2 separate regions of the Homo sapiens genome follow, and region 2 is linked to region 1. Evidence: promoter capture Hi-C in 16 types of primary human blood cells and fetal thymus (Javierre and others, 2016). All regions are on one chromosome and are shown on one strand. The core of a region is centred on a gene start or on the middle of the fragment in contact, and the rest is flanking DNA. Distances in the headings are between cores, read along the strand shown. Region 1 holds the start of PSME1 (proteasome activator subunit 1). Region 2 overlaps ACIN1 (apoptotic chromatin condensation inducer 1).

Evidence for each region. The method cuts DNA at HindIII sites, captures the fragments that hold promoters and counts their contacts. A CHiCAGO score of 5 or more calls a contact.
Region 2: a contact is called between a fragment that was not itself captured here and the fragment with the promoter of PSME1 in region 1, in 1 of 17 cell types (M0 macrophages). The highest score is 5.4, in M0 macrophages.

Annotation. Positions count from the first base shown.
Region 1 is chr14:24,134,759-24,137,458 of GRCh38, forward strand. It overlaps PSME1 (proteasome activator subunit 1), which reads left to right and starts at 1,436. Exons shown (of 11, transcript NM_006263.4): 1 at 1,436-1,543; 2 at 2,227-2,259; 3 at 2,385-2,447; 4 at 2,563-2,673. The coding sequence starts at 1,505. RefSeq lists silencers at 1,010-1,429, 1,480-1,769. The HindIII fragment of the contact is 8,418 bases long and covers 1,036-2,700 here.
Region 2 is chr14:23,080,898-23,083,597 of GRCh38, forward strand. It overlaps ACIN1 (apoptotic chromatin condensation inducer 1), which reads right to left. Exons shown (of 19, transcript NM_001386863.1): 5 at 851-939. It overlaps LOC124903288 (a long non-coding RNA gene), which reads left to right. Exons shown (of 2, transcript XR_007064077.1): 2 at 1-1,317. Among named protein-coding and RNA genes, the nearest start is that of ACIN1, 13 kb to the right of the region's middle. The HindIII fragment of the contact is 1,808 bases long and covers 382-2,189 here.

The sequences.
Region 1 (2,700 bases), core at 186-2,685:
ACAGACACTGTAAGGCCTATAAAGCCTAAAATATTTACTCTCTGGCCCTTTATAGAAAAAGTTGGCCAGACGCGGTGGCTCATGCCTGCAATCCCAGCACTTTGGGAGGCCGAGGCGGGCGGATCACGAGGTCAGGAGATCGAGTCCATCCTGGCTAACATGGTGAAACCCCGTCTCTACTAAAAATACAAAAAATTAGCCGGGCGTGGTGGGACGCGCCTGTAGTCCTAGCTACTCCGTAGGCTGAAGCAGGAGAATCGCTTGAACCCTGGAGGTGGAGGTTGCAGTGAGCCTAGATGGTGCCACTGCACTCCACCCTGGGCGACAGAGCGAGACTCCGTCCCCCAACACACACACACACACACACACACACACACACGTTTGCCAAAACCTGGTTTAAATCAGTAAATTATCCTGGAAAAAAAAAAAAAAACACCTGGCTAATATCAGAGAGATAAATGCTATGAATGTACTAAAACAGGATGATTTGTAATAGATTTGGAGGGAGGTTCCTTATAAAGGATGATGAAAATAGTTCTCTCTGAAGAGGTGACATCTAAACTGAGAACCGAATGACAACACCCAGGGTAAGGGTGTTTTAGGCAAAGGGATTATTAGCAAGGGCAAAGGCCCTGAGGCAGAAATGAACATGACACATCTGAGAAACAAATAGCCCAAATATTTGCAAGTGTAATGAATGAAGGGGCAAGCAGTAGAAAGTGGACTTAAAGGGGAGACAGGTGCGACAGCCTTTTGGATTTCATTCAAAGGTCAACAGGCAGCTGAGAAAGGGTTTTAAGCCAGAGAGAGGCATGAACCCGCTGCTCCGTGAGAGTGGGTTATAGAATGGCATCTGCAGCCGTGGTCCAGGAGAGAGTTGGTCCGGGCTTGGATAGGGATGCTGCCAGCTCTGGTGCCGGTGTTGCTACAGGTGCGCAGGATGTCGGCAGAGCCAGAGGCCCACGCTAGCAAGGCTAGGAAAGACAGGCCAGGTCTTATTCCATCTCTAGGGAAAGACGGAAGAGCCCTAAGTAAAGCTTATCTGTCCCAGGCGGAGCAGGGGAAGAAGAGAGCAGGTGGGGAGCCAGTTGGGAGGCGGGAGGTGGAGGTTGGGACGCGGAGAGACTGGCTTGGGCTTGGCGATGGGAGGACCCGGACCCGCCGTCCTCAGGCGGCGGGCGGCAGGTGGCGGGAGGCGGGAGGCGGGGACCGGGCCAGCGGAGGTGGGGAGCCTGGAAGCTGGCCCTCGCGAGGCGGCGCGGGGAGGGTGGGTGAAGAGCGCCTGTGCGCGCTAGGCGGAGCCTCACCCGCCGCCCTCCTCTGCGGCACCGCCCCTTCCATGGCAGGGCTGACCCCGCCTCCTCCATCCGACCCCGCCTCCTCCAGCCCTCCCCGCCCCACTACCCAGGAAGGCGGAGCTGGGTGCGAGCGCCCTACCGCTTTCGCTTTCCCTTCGCGGTGCCCACTCCACTCCTTGTGCGGCGCTAGGCCCCCCGTCCCGGTCATGGCCATGCTCAGGGTCCAGCCCGAGGCCCAAGCCAAGGTGAGCGCCGCGGGGTCTAGAAAGGGCCCACTGGGGAGGCGTGGCTGGAGCGGCCGGGGGCATCCCCGACCCGCCCCCCAGGCTCCCACGCGAGTCGGGGGCAGTCGGCCGAGCTGGCGCGCCCGGAGCACCTGCGCCCCGGGGAGGGCGGCGACTGCTGCCTGCGGGGAGAGGCGAGGCGGCCGTGGTTCTGCGGGGTGAGGTGAAGCGGAGAGCTGGCGTGGAGGGGAACTCCGCTGGCCTGGGGCCGGGGCCACACACAGACTGGGTGCGGGACTGCCCCAGCTACCTTCTGGCCTTTCCCTCAGGGAGGGTCCCGGGGCCCACCCCATCCCTGTCCTACTTGCAGAGGACTCTCAGCACCCCTCCTCACACCTGCCAGGCGACCCCAGAGATCTGTTCTCACGTGAACACTGGCCCTTCACCGCCAGGAATGTTCTCATCCCCCATATCCAGCCCCAGGGATACCCACTCCACTTTCCGTAGATCCAGGTCTGCAGAGATCCACCTTCTCCACCACCCCAACCCACCCTACAGGCATCCATCTCGCTTTCTTCAGGTCTGGCCTTAGAGGGATCCCCTCCACCCTTCCCCAGGTCAGGCCCTACATAACCCTAAGGGAACTGTCCTCAAATGAACTGGCCTTAAAGCCAAGTTTCTGAAGGGATGCGTGTGCCCCACAGGTGGATGTGTTTCGTGAAGACCTCTGTACCAAGGTAAGACATGCCCCATCAGCGTGGCCCCACCCCTGCCCAACTCCTACTGCTCAACCCTGCCTCACTACCTAGGACGGGCATTTGATGCTGACTCCCATCCTCCTCCACCCCCACCTCACACACAGACAGAGAACCTGCTCGGGAGCTATTTCCCCAAGAAGATTTCTGAGCTGGATGCATTTTTAAAGGTACCGCGGCTGGGCAGGGAGCTAGGGAGTAAAGGCCAAGAGAAGAGTCTGGAGGCTGTGAGAGTGAGGTGAGAGGAACTCCCTCACCTCCAGCCCTCCTCCCACCCTACACCAGGAGCCAGCTCTCAATGAAGCCAACTTGAGCAATCTGAAGGCCCCATTGGACATCCCAGTGCCTGATCCAGTCAAGGAGAAAGAGAAAGAGGAGCGGAAGAAACAGCAGGAGGCAAGCTGGGAAGACCTGGGAGAAGGG
Region 2 (2,700 bases), core at 36-2,535, 1.1 Mb before region 1:
GGAGAAATTCAATGATATATACTTTCAGCAACAGAAACAGGAGTGACAGGAGACAATCATGACTAACGTAGCCCTTAGGGGAATCAAAACAAAGTGACCAAAAGAAATATCACAATGAAGCTACTTGTATGTAGTTTAAATTTTAGCTTCAAGCACCCCCTTTTTTTTTTTTTCAGTAAAATATTAGCAGAACATCTGGAAAGTAAAAGGGTGGATAGGGGGCTGAAAGGAACTAACCTACTATCAATTAATACGATTATCTTTTTATCATTTTGGTATATTTCTTTTTGTTCTTTCCTCTAATCATTTCCTTTGTACAGTCATAATTACACTACACATAACATTTTTGTATTCTGCCCACTTAGTGTTATATAACTTTAAAGCTTTGATTGAATGGTTAATTATGTCATATCTTGTCTAATAATGTGCTTTAAGAATACAGAGCAGCCTGCTAATTTTCAAATTTAAACTTTTAAAAAATATTCACTTAGAAATCTAAAAGGCAGAGCAGATCTAAATAAAAAGACAAAACGAACAACAAAAAGATGACAAAGAGGAGAAGGAAGATAACCACAAAGAAATCTAGAGGCCAGGCAGTGGCTCATGCCTGTAATCCCAATCCTTTGGGAGGCTGAGGTGGAAGGACTGCTTAAGCCTAGGAGGTCGAGGCTGTAGTAAGCTGTGATTGTGCCACTGCACTCCAGCCTAGGCGACAGAGCCAGACTCTGTCCCAAAAAAGAAAAACAAAACCCCTAAATGTAGAGACATACAAACTCAAAACAAGTCTGAAGAAGAGAAGATATCCAAAGCATTACTGAAGAGGTAATGCTTTAGGAGGTATCTGAGTTACCTGTCTGACCCTAGATGATCGTCTTTCTCCTTTCCTTGGTTTCTCATCATCAGAGTCACCTTTCTCTTCAGAAATTGAGGAGCTTTTTCCTATTGAATGAAAAAGAATCAAGTCAGATTCATGAAGTGAAGACTCATTCATGGCTTTTTAAAAATCAGGCTTTCTAATATCCAACCAATTATAGCATATGAGCCTATCAAGACATATCTGTATCGGTTTCTTTGACTTCTACACTAAAGAAAAGACTACAAAAAGCCCTAACTAGGTCAGGGTCTTATTGGTAATTCTTGGTGTGCAAGTCTAGAATATTTTCAACACCTCGAAGCCAATTCACATGTTATAAATAACTCAAATAAATGTAAAATAATTTCCAGGGGCTTCAAACTGTCTAGCAGGGATGTACAAATATGAAGTGTACTTATTTCTACAAAGTGTTCTTACTCTGAATAAAGTTTAAGACTTCATTATGTTCTGTATCCATTTTTTTGGATTGCCTATTACTACTACTTTCTAATTTCAACCAAAATATTATGATGAAATATATGAATTTGCACAATAACAAACTCAAGAAATAAATACTTAGAGGAATGTTTTTCAGCGCCCTAAAGTTCCTGAAATTACTTCAAGCCAACTGGATGGGGTTTCAGAATTGGGTCCTGTCTATTAGGTTTTATGTATTAGAGCTCAATATTTTTTTTTTTTTTTTTTTTTTTTCTGAGATGGAGTCTCACTCTGTCACCCAGGCTGGATGCAGTGGTGCAATCTCGCCTCACTGCGACCTCTGCCCCCTGGCTTCAAACCAGTCTCATGCCTCAGCCTCCTGAGTAGCTGGGATTACAGGTGCCCACCACCATGCCTGGCTAATTTTTGTATTTTTAGTAGATATGGGGTTTCATCCTGTTGGACAGGCTGGTCTCAAACTCCTGACCTCAAGTGATCTGCCCGCCTTGGCCTCCCAAAGTGCTGGGATTACAGGCATGAGCTCACATGTTTTTCTTTTTTTTTTTTTGAGACAGAGTTTTGCTCTTGTTGCCCAGGATGGAGTGCAATGGCATGATCTAGGCTCACCACAACCTCCGCCTCCCAGGTTCAAGCGATTCTCCTGCTTCAGCCTACCGGGCAGCTGGGACTGCAGGCGCACGCCACCATACCTGGCTAATTTCGGTATTTTTTACAGAGGCGGGGTTTCATCATGTTGCCTAGGCTGGTTCGAACTCCTGGGCTCAAGCAATCCCCCCGCCTTGGCCTCCCAAAGTGCTGGAATTACAGGCGTGAGTCACCGCACCCGGACTAGGTGAGATTTTTTTTTTTTTTAAGGAAAAAAAAAGTTCTATTAAAAAGCTTGGAAACCACCAATCTAGGTTATCCTGAACAATAAATCCATGTAAAACGGAAAGAAAGTTTCACTCAAATTCCATGAAGGAAGGTAACTGGGTAAATCACTTAAGTAATTTGGGTCTCAATATCTTTCTTTTTAGACAGTGTTTTACTCTGTCACCCAGGCTGGAGTGCAGTGGCATGATCATGGCTCACTGCAGCCTCAGCCTCCAGGGCTCAAGTAATCCTCCCACCCCGGTCCTCCCAAAGTGCTGAGATTAAGGTATAAACCACTGTGCCCGAGTCTCAAATGTCATGATTGAGAAAAAGGAGGGGCTGCACTAGATGATTTCCAAATTTCCTACCAGAATTAAGATCAACTAGGCGGCCGGGCACGGTGGCTCACGCCTGTAATCCTAGCACTTTGAGAGGTCGAGGCAGGCGGATCACGACGTCAGGAGATCGAGACCATCCTGGCTAACATGGTGAAACCCTGTCTCTACTAAAAATACAAAAAATTAGCCAGGCGTGGC